Linked DNA regions of Homo sapiens: region 1 is linked to region 2. Evidence: promoter capture Hi-C in human tissues and cell types (Jung and others, 2019). All regions are on one chromosome and are shown on one strand. The core of a region is centred on a gene start or on the middle of the fragment in contact, and the rest is flanking DNA. Distances in the headings are between cores, read along the strand shown.

The links. Contacts are between HindIII fragments. The study calls those that stand out against the background at their distance.
Region 1: a contact is called between a fragment that was not itself captured here and the fragment with the promoter of CDC7 in region 2, in 1 of the 25 tissues and cell types used here (dorsolateral prefrontal cortex).

Annotation. Positions count from the first base shown.
Region 1 is chr1:92,171,410-92,176,971 of GRCh38, reverse strand. BTBD8 (BTB domain containing 8) reads right to left here. Exons shown (of 18, transcript NM_001376131.1): 13 at 5,512-5,562; 14 at 1-143. Among named protein-coding and RNA genes, the nearest start is that of C1orf146, 44 kb to the left of the region's middle. The HindIII fragment of the contact is 5,069 bases long and covers 1,462-5,562 here.
Region 2 is chr1:91,498,273-91,504,013 of GRCh38, reverse strand. CDC7 (cell division cycle 7) reads right to left here and starts at 3,163. Exons shown (of 12, transcript NM_003503.4): 1 at 3,066-3,163; 2 at 2,183-2,360. The coding sequence starts at 2,297. It overlaps LOC105378856 (a long non-coding RNA gene), which reads left to right and starts at 3,166. Exons shown (of 3, transcript XR_947599.4): 1 at 3,166-5,499. RefSeq lists an enhancer at 2,322-2,521. The HindIII fragment of the contact is 7,471 bases long and covers 887-5,741 here.

The sequences.
Region 1 (5,562 bases), core at 2,747-5,246, 670 kb before region 2:
GTACTTGACGAATGTCCAGATGCTCCTAATCCATCAGATTTCATCTTTTTATTAGTAGAGAGATAACTCCAACACTCTTTCTTGTTATTTCCCCTCCAAGATTTGATTTTTATATCACCAGAGTCAGAAACTTGTTTCCTTTGCTATAAAAAAGAAAAAAAATACTTTGTAATTTGACTGAAATCTTTAACATATAATATTTTATGTTTCCAAAAGCCAGTCTTTCAAAGAAAAAAAATAGAAAAGTTCATATTATGATTTAAGGTCAAAGCTTGAACTGTCTTTGATCATTTGGATCAAAACTTTGTCTTAGATTACCGTAATCAAATCTGAAATACAGCATAAGTGTTTATTTTAAAGGCATGCTATTCTATCTATTAAAGTAAATAAATAAATAAAAGGAAGGCTTTTTTAATGTATGAAGTTTTGATAGAGATTAATGTCTATAAAGATTCAGGATGCCCTGAGGAATGATAATATCCATGATTTTTTAGAAGGCTTACTCCCATGTTTTATACTACATCTTTTGTATACATCATCCCACTTAATCCTCACAACAGTCCCATGAACTAGCTCCTGTGGCTGTTTCTATTTCTTAGACAAGAAATTGAGGATTAAAGTAGGTATGTGATTTACCCCAGGTCTCAGGCTGATGAGGGATGGAATCAGGACTTGAGCTCATTTTTTAACCTCACACCGAAGTCATCTATATAGCATAATTTGAGGGACATTATAAAGATTTTCAATAAAAATTCTCTCTTCAACCTTATTCCAAGTGCCAGAAATTTTATCATTAAAGACTTAATCCTCTGTGGGAAGAATCCTTTACTTCTTGGAGTCCTTATTTAAAAAAATTTTTTTTTAAAAGCTCCTAGGAAGCACAGCACATCAATACACTACATCTGCAAAGCTTGGTTTTTGGACAAATAAGATACTAGTATAGCACTGGCTGGCTATAGGAAGCGAAGGAAAAGGGATCCTAAAAATAGCTGAAATAGGCTAAAAAGGGACAAATAAAATGGCACTGAAGATAAACATACCTACTTCATCATTTTCCTTAGAACCAACCTTGATATGAAAGGGAACAAAGAAAATTTTTAAGTTGGTAGAAATTCTAGGATAATATTTTAAGATCATATTGTCATTCTTTTTTTTCTTTCTTTTTTCTTTCTTTTTTGAGACAGAGTCTTGCTCTGTCACCCAGGCTGGAGTGCAGTGGCCCAGTCTTGGCTCACTGCAACTTCTGCCTCCTGGGTTCAAGCAATCTCCTGCCTCAGCCTCCTGAGTAGCTGGGACTATAGGCACATGCCACCACACTTGGCTAATTTTTTTGTATTTTAGTAGAGAGAGGGTTTCACCGTGTTGCCCAGGCTGATCTTGAACTCCTGAGCTCAGGCAATCCACCCGCCTCGGCCTCCCAAAGTGCTAGGATCACAGGCATGAGCCACTGTGCCCGGCCAATATTGTCATTCTTTTTTTTTTTTTTTTTTTTTTGAGATGGAGTCTTGCTCTGTTGCCAGGCTGGAGTACAGTGGCACGATTTCAGCTCACTGCAACCTCCGCCTCCCAGGTTCAAGCAATTCCCCTGCCTCAGCCTCCCGAGTAGCTGGGACTACAGGCATGCGCCACCATGCCCAGCTAATTTTTGTATTTTTAGTAGAGACGGGGTTTCACCATGTTGGCCAGGATGGTCTTGATCTCTTGACCTCGTGATCCACCCACCTCAGCCTCCTAAAGTGCTGGGATTACAGGTGTGAGCCACCGCGCCCGTCCTATTGTCATTCTTTATGTAAGTATGCAAACGGTTTTTTTTTTCCTTTGGAAGCTGTATGAGATTGTAGAGGTCTGAGGCAGAGCCTGTGCTCTCTTCATCTTTTGTATCCCTCGGCACCATGTCACATATTGGATACTCAAAAAACAAACAAACAAAAAACGTAATCAATGTTGTTAATGCTGGGCATATATTGCATATTTTGATATGCAGTTTAAGGTCTATTTTTAAATATGAAAAGCTTCCAATTACATTAAAAGCTGTCAAAGATAAAATAACATATATGAATGTGGGTGCACACAAAAAAATACACAATAAATAACTTGGTTAAATTTAGAAAAAAGGAAAGCACGGTGATAAAACAACCACTAGATTCTTGTCCTAGTTTTGCTTCTAACCAGCCTGGGACATTTCAGAAATTATTAACAGCTTTGGGTCTCAGCTTATGCCTGTCCACAGCGTAGAGACTGGTCCTATTCACAGCAGTCTTCTAGGATTCTAACATTTAAAACGTTCAGATAGGCTTGGTCCTCATTTTTTGTTTTCTTGCTCAAATCTTAGCTCAAAAAAAAAACATTTCTCTATTTTTAATACCTAAAACCAGGCTGACTTCTGCTTTTAGAACTCCTTCCCACCCTTAACACTGAATCTACTTAATTTATTCTATCCTTGAATTTATGCATCTTGAAGTATTACGCTATGGGTGAAATCTATATAGTATATGGTATAGCTGTATGCCTTGAAAAATTTCACAATAGGCCAGGTGCGGATTGCTTGAGCCCAGGAGTTTGAGACCAGCCTAGGCAACATGGCAAAACCCCGCCTCTACAAAAAAAAATACAAACATTAGCCAGGCATGGTAGCTTGGGCCTATGCCTGCTATTCAGGAAGCAGAGGTGGAAGGATCCCTTGAGCCCAGAAGGTCAGGGCTGCAGTGAGTTGTGATTGTGTCACTCCACTCCAGCCTGGGTGACAGAGTGAGACCCTGTCTCAAAAAATAGGAAAAATTAAACATAATCATAAGAGGACAGAAGAGTATAATGAATCCTCACGTACCTAATAGCCAGCTCTAAAAATTATTAATTCATTATTAATTCCAATTTTATTTCATACACACCCACCCCCATTTTATTTTGAAGCAAATCCCAGATATCATATATTTTATCCTTAAGTATTTTGGTACTAAGCATTCTTCTTAAATCGCTCTATGAAGGAAAAATGAAGCAGGCAACAACAACCACCACCACAACAAAACAAACAAACAAAAAACCTCTTTCCCTGTCTTATCTGATTAACTTTCTCCCACCTCCTAGATAGCTCATCCCTGTTTGGAAAACACATTTATTTGCTCCACATTTATTGAGCACTTACTACATACCAGATAATTGCACATAAATTATTTCACCTAATTTTCACAATAATCCTGCTAGGTTTTATTACTCCATTTTATAAATAAGCAAACTAAGACTCACAGATGACACATAATAAATGCAAAGCCAAAATTTGAACTCTTTTGATTTTGTGTCCAGCATCCATTTCAGCATATCACTGTCTTTCTGGGGGAAACTTCCTTCCTTCCCATTGTTCTTAACAGAAAAAAGACTTAGACAACCACAAAGTCAGGAGGATGAGGAAAAATAATGAAACTTTGTTCTATTCTGCAGTAAGGCAAGGAAGGCAGAAAAGCCTGGTGAGTAGCAGGGGATAGGAAGGCAAGTAGGCTAATTCCTGGGGGCCTTTAAAAAACACGGGGATAACAGGGAACACAGAAAAAAATGTCCTAGTGCACCATTTCCTAGAGTATGTTCTGTGGAATCGTATAATATGCTTTAAAAGGGTTGTCGGGACCCTAGTCGTATTCCATAGCTATAACATTGGGGAAAATTTTGGATGCAACAATTCAAAAGTATTCTTTAGTGTTTCTCAGCACTTTCAAGGTATAATATGCATCGTCGGTCTATAAAGAGTTGCTATGGGGTTGGGCGTGGTGGCTCACGCCTGCAATCCCAGGACTTTGGGAGGCCGAGGCGGGCAGATCACCTGAGGTCGGGAGTTCGAGACCAGCCTGAACAACATGGAGAAACCCCATCTCTACTAAAAATACAAAATTAGGCAGGCATGGTGGCACATTCCTGTAATCCCAGCTATTTGGGAGGCTGAGGGAGGAGAACTGCTTGAACCTGGGAGGCGGAGGTTGTGGTGAGCCGAGATCATGCCATTGCACTCCAGCCTGGGCAACAAGAGCGAAACTCCGTCTCAAAAAATAAAAAGAGGAGCTATGGTGTGTAGCTACTCTCCAACTTATAGTTGATGCTAGATGGAGCTCGTATCTTGTGAAACCCACTTTGGAAACAATCCTAAGAGGTTAATTGGCAAAAACTCCAGTCTCCCAGTTTCTCACTCAAGACATTTGGAGCTTGACCTCTTCCTCAAGCCATGACAACTCTCAGTTGTGGCTTGGAGCTGCATTAGTTCCTATCAACTGGCTGATGAGGAAGAAAAAAGGATTTCCTATTCCACTCTGCTAGGGCAATACGTTCATTGCATTCCAAACTGGAACTCTCAATGTATGTCTATCATTGTACCACACAGAGGTTAGAATAATTTTGTACTTTGAATATATTATTGGTTAAGTGAACATCTGTAAGTCAGCTAGGAACCCTAACCATAATTAATAACATTTTTGGGAAGACAAATTTATTTCAGGTTATAAGAAAAACACCAAATAACCTTGTGGGTGGTCAAAAACAAACAAACAACACACAAAACATGAAATCTACCATCTTAACCATTTAATACACTTAAGTACTCTTTAATACACTTCAGTAACAGTGTAGTAATGTTAGCTGCATGCACTTCGTTGCACAACAGAAAACTTTTCATCTTGCAAAATGGAAACTCTGTACTCATTGAACAACTCCCCCTTTCTCCCTCCCTCTAGTTTTCAGCAACCACAATACTACCTTCTAAGAATTCAACTACTTTAGATACCTCATAAAAGTATACCAAGTAACTTTTAAAGTAAAACACAGTTGTACTCTTAGTACTAATTGCTTTTTTCAAAAACACCAAAAATACATTATGTGAATTAAAATCTTTTTTTTTGTTTGAGATGGAGTTTCGCTCTTGTCACCCAGGCTGGAGTGCAATGGTGCAATCTCATCACACTGCAACCTCTGCCTCCCGGGTACAAGCAATTCTCCTCCCTCAGCCTCCCGAGTAGCTGGGATTACAGGTGTGCACCACCATGCCTGGCTAATTTTTGTGTATTTAGTAAAGATGGGGTTTCACCATGTTGGCCTGGCTGCTCTCGAACTCCTGACCTCAGGTGATCCATCCGCCTCGGCCTCCCAAAGTGCTGGGATTACAGGCGTGAGCCACCATGCCTAGCCTAAAATCTTCTTTTTTAAGAAGTAGGCTAATTAGAAAAACAGACATTGAATTAGGTCTAGAGTTCTAAACAACTTCTAATAGACTGAAATAGCTCTAATACGTTAGCTGCCAAAAAGGTTTTCAAGGAAATGAAAAAGGTAGATACTTCCAGTGCCAACTGGATATAAAAAATTCACTTTAAAACATTTATTAAATGTTCACTTGATTTAGAAAAAGAAAAATTTTCCATTAAGAAATAGCTTCAATTAATGAATAGATTTTTAAAACTTTTTCTGAAATATAAAATAATAAGCTTTAAATAATTTGTTATCTTTTTCATTTGTACCTATAAAATTTAGAAAGTTTACCTGCGAGCTACTGAATATAGGCTTTTTGCCAAGTCTTCGATCATCACCTTT
Region 2 (5,741 bases), core at 1,914-4,413:
AACAATCTATAGGGTCAATAGTAAAAGGTGATTGAATATATTATAATATAATATGCAATGGACCTTAAATCCAGTTGTAGAATATTTACTACATGAGCAATATTCAAGATATATATTAAAAAAAATGGAGATCAGAAATAAGATCCCATATTCTGGTTCTCTTTTCAAAAACAAAAACAAAACAAGATCCCAATTTAGTTTCTAAAAAATGTACCTATGTATGCCTAGAAAGGCTAAAGGAATATAACAAAATGTCAACAGTGGCAATATTTCAATAATGGGAAAAGACTTTATTTTGGCTTTCTTTACTTCAAAAATTTCAATAATCATGTTTATCAGAAAAATGTTATAAAAATCTGACAAATATCTCAAAATAAAGAGACATGCTATTCATCCATTACACTAAGTATTTTACTTTATATCCTTACATTAAATCATTCATTCAAATATTTTCAAGCACCTACTATGTGCTGGACACTGTTAAGCTCTGGGAATGCTAAGATATATAAAACATCCAATCAAAAATATAACTTCAATAAGGAGTAAAGTTGATGAGGTGCAGGCATATACCTGTCTCATGATCTAATTTGATTTACTTTCCCAATTAGATTACTAGACTGTTATGTGCCTGGACCTCATCAGCTTTGCTCCCTATTGAAGTTATGTTTATATAACTTTAGCTGTTATTAAGATCATATTTAAAAAAGAACCATAAGAGTAAAGTTTTAGCACGTTTTATAATTTATCATATTATAATGTCCAATGTTCTGTTACATAAACGCTACAAAACTTTTGAAATCCGTAATAAAATTCACCCCATTCATTACTTCCCAGCAGATTTTCAGAATATTAGAATAGTGGCATTCTCCTAAACATGATGCTAGAACCAATTCAGAGTCATCCATTCAGATACTCTGCTGAAGTCACAACATACTTTAGAAACCAGAGGAGATACTGCCGCCAAGGGGTTTACAGTGGAGACAAAATGCAGAGTCCTAAGCAATAGAAAAAGAATACTACAATGACTGTGTTACTGTGTTATGTGTCCAGTGACTAGTAAGGGAAAGATGAACTAAAAAAACAGCTAACTGCTGGAAAAATGGAAAGGAAGAGGAACAGTATCCATGAAACTGGATGAAAGTGGCATTTTAAGATTATTCTAGCACCAACATACAAGATGAACTGAAGAATGGAAAAGTGCAAGCAGGCAGCATAGGTGAGAAACTGTTGTAAATCAGGAACAAAGTGTAAGGAAATTAATTAATGTGGTGGAAATGGGAATGGAAAGAAGACACAATGCCATACTTACTAAAAAGAAATAAAGCTAGGTGACGATATGGGGAACAAATAAAAAGCATCAGCTGAAGATTAAAGTTTCAAGTTTAGGTAAGTGGGATAACTGACTTCCATCAAAGCAGAAAGTATGTGATGTCATATTTTTCTAGGGTGGGGTTATAAAGAATATATGGACAAAAGGTCAAAATAAGTATCTTTTAGACAAGCACAGAATTCACTTAAGACAAAGATGGGAAAGATGATCTGGCTACCCTTTCAGAAAAAAAAAAATACAGTCAACTAGAATTCCTCTATTTAACAAATATTTATTATTAACAAATACCTACTATGTCCCAGGTCCTGTGCCAGAGCAGAAATGAAGGTACACATGCGAGTGTACAAGAGCAGGCACTGCTTGACCCTGTCTTATTCACCCTAAGGTCTGGTTTACGGTCAAAGAACATTTCATGCTGTACACTGAGATATGGTGCTTTATTATTGCTACAAACATTTCATATTTTTTTGTCTGTGAGTTCTGCTTTTGAATACTTAAGTGATGATCTCCAGTGTCAATTTCTACATTTAAGCTTAAGGCAATGTGGTGAGTAGAGATAAGAACACAGATACAAAAGAGAAATTTAATTTGGGCATCATCAAATTTCTGCATTCTTAATTACCAATACTGAGACCATAGCAACTTCAACCGTAAAACAGGTTGTATTACAGTCTTCCAAATCGCAATTCAGTCCTACATTTAGATCATACGAAGCTCTGTTTTAACACTGTCCTATAGAAACATACAATTCACTTTATAAGATTCAATCTTATTTTTTGAGAGGAATTGAAAACACAGAATTGTTGCCTGAAAAATCTTTATAACTGTACATCTTTGGATTTAAACACGTACCTGCAAGTTTAAAATTCTGCTCGTTTTTTTTTAAAGAGCCTTCAGCCTGAAACCGGTCACGCTGGGGAGAAAAAGCCATTGGCTCATCCATCTGAATCCCCAAAGACGCCTCCATCACAAGCCAATTGAGATGCAAAATGCCAGCTAAGGGGTTACATCCACAGGGGGAGCAAAGCAGCTGTGAAAATTAGAACACTAGAGAAATTTAGATCACTCGCTAAACCACGCACTAAAAACATGCTACTGCCCCCCAAAGGGGCAAACATTTTCAAACGCACGATGTGTCCAAACCTCCACAGTAGGGCATACTGTGGCCTTGTCTAAGGAATTCCATGTGCTTTATTTTCACCTATCAGAAACACCGGCAGGGGGCTGCAGGGAGAATTTCCCGGCTTGGGCACCCGCGCAGCAGCAGGCGCAGTGGGAAACGGCGAGGCTGCCAGTCCGGCACAGCCAGCGGGACCGCGTGGGGGAGGGGCCGAGCGCCGGGGGCGGTTTGAAGTCAGGAAAAGAACTGAGGGAGAAAACCTTTTCGCCACTGACAGGAAGCGCCAGGAGGCTCGTCCAAGGCCCCAAGCAAGTTGACGGAGAACTGATACGACCCTGGCCACGAGTACTGGGCGGAGGAGGAGAAGGGTGAATGAATGGGAATCCGCCGGCCAGCGCTGGCCGCGAGCTCAGCCGGGAAGGACCGGCTTCCCTCGGGCCAGAGACCGAACCAGATGCTTAGTGCGCAGGCGCGCGACTTTCCCGCCGCAGGTCGGAGGGATCCGAAGGGGGGCGGGAAAAGGAACTGCACGGCGAGAAAACCGAAGTCACGATCCAGAATTCGTTCCTAATCCCTCACAATCCCGCGCCATGGAACAAACCGTCGGAAACTCACGGTTTAAGGGAGTACGACTTCTGTGGCTCCCCAGATGCCTGGGTCGCCGTCTCCAAGAGATCCCCACCTACCGAGTCGATCGGATGCGCCTGCGCAACACTTCCCGCCGCCGCTCTGGTTGCACATGCGCACACTAAAGCCCTCGACCCCGCGGATTCCGCTACTGGGCGTTTGCGCAAGAGGGTGGGGTTTCTTCCCGCCGCCTTGGCCAGCTAGAAGAGCGGTTACGGGAATGAAGCCCGTGGATGATCTTAAAAAACAGGGTGAACCATAAGGCTAAGGGCCCAGCATGATTTCCAGGAAAGAAGCTAGCTCAGAGAAGGAAAAATCTCAGGTGCTGACACATCCCTATATACGTGGCCGGCCGCACAACACATTGGGCACTCCATGGATAAAAGGCACTTTCTTGACTCTGCTTTTATTTCCTTTTCGTTGAGTGCCCTACTTCCCCGTTAAAAACAAGCAGAAAATGTAATTGCTGATTGTTTGTGGCTGTGTTAGTAGAAATTAGCACAGTGGCAGGAAGGCAGTGTATACTATTTACTGAGCCCTTGGCTATGAGGTAGGTGGGTTTTTCTAGGGGCTGGAATCATAGTGAGCAAGATAAACACCATCCCTGTAGGAAGCTAAATTCCAATGAAGCGATGACAATAACGGATGAATAAATGAACAGTATTCTTTCCGGCATTGATTACTACTTGAGGGAAATACTGACCAGGAAGGTGGCATCTAGATGGTCAGGGAAGCCCTCTCAAAGAGACCTGGATGAGAAAGAGCTGGTAGGGAGACTGTTGTCCTGGCAAAGAAAGGATAGGGCAAATGCAGAGAGAAAGAGGAACTTGGTATGTTGCAGGGGCAGGGCAGGAAAGGCCAGTGTGGGGGAAGCATAGTGAGTGAGCCGCAAGATAGTCCCAGATAGATGAAGGTGGAGAGTTAGGCAGAAGCCAGACCAGGGTCCTTGAAAGCCAGGGTAAGAAGTTTAGTGTTTGTTCTGAGTACAATTGGAAGCTATTTGAAAGTTTTAAAGCAAGGGAGTAATATGATCTATCTGTTATGAAGAGAATGGATTGTAGAGGGGCAAGTGTGGAAGCAGAGGAAATAGGATGCACTTTATGTTTAGGAGAAACATAATGGTAGTTTGGACCAGAACAATGGCGGAAGAAATAAAAGAAAGAAGACAATGGGATTTGGTGATTGGCTATGGAAAATGAAGAAAAGGGCATCATCAACAGTGAATCTTAGGTTTTGGGCTAGCATATGTGTGGGTGGTAGTGCCACATAGAAGGGAAGTCTGTGAGGTAATGGTTTTTGATTGAGTGAGGTGGAAGAGAGTAAATCAAGGATTCTAGTGTGGATACCGAGAAAGAGAAAAGCAGACCTTGACATCCAGGAGATGGCCTGGTACTACCAGCTTGGTTTGCTGTTGCTTTGAGCTGGCCTGGCAATCACAGCCAAGCATTGGTATTCTTCTGTTGAACATAAACAATTTCACAGAACATCAGACAAGACAGAGTTGTGACCGTGATAGATCAAGACAAAAGTAAGATCACTCTATAATCATATGTGAACACAGACACAACATCAACATTGCCCAAGCCATAAAAATGATCAAATATCTCCTTATCCTAGCTAATATGAGTGCCTGCTGCTTCTTTACCAATTATAGTTTTAACCTCAGTCTAGTCTTCCTTCCTTCTACATAATACTTATTAAAATACCCAATTATAGAATTATCCTTGCTTCCTTACAGCTTCCAATCCAGGCCAAAGTCCCTCTTTCTTGCACCCTTCCGTAAATCTCCTAACACAAACTCAAATTCTATAACAAGTCCTTTTTAACACCCTCTTCCTAAGACATCCCATGGTTCCCCATGGTGTGCATTCTCACGTACTGAAACAAGCAATACATCCAAGTTGCTCAGCTATAGTTGTGTTCCTGGTGGTCATTATCGGGAGGTCGTTAACAATAATCAAGTCCAAGATATGCAAGTGATGATGTCAAAGAAACAGATGAATATATTGGTCTGGGGTATAGTTCAGGGTGAAGAAATAAACTTGGCAGTTATGAATTTATAGATGAAACCTAGTCTTGGACTATACGATATTATCTAAGCAAAGATTGTAGATGGAGAGTTGGGCTATGATAACTTCCAACATTTCATAGTTGAGCAGAGGAGGAGGAAGAACCAGCAAGAGACTGAGAAGTAGTAGTCTGTGAGGTAAGAAGGTGATGTCATAGAAGTCAAGAGCAGAAAGTTTTACAATTAGAAGAAAGTGGTCAGCTATAGCAAATGCTTCACAGAAGTAGTGAGGATACAGAATTGATCAGAGATAGTCATTAGAGCCTTCAGAAAGAGCAGCTTTGGAGTGAGACAGAAAGACTATATTGAATTTATTGACGAACAAAAGATCTACAAATGGAGACAACTCTTGAGGTTTGGTTTGTTTCTTAGTTTGGTTTCTTGTCTTTATTGGGGGGTAGGGCGCACAAATAGAATAGTGGCTACAGTGTCAAATTGTTTATAAACTTTATACTAGCCGTGTAACTTGGGCAAGTTATTCAATATCTGTGACACTCCTATTTCAAAAATGTAACATGGATAAAATACTTGCTTGGTTTTGCTATAGGGATTAAATTAGATAAAGTGACATAATACATGTAAAGTGCTTGGTCCCA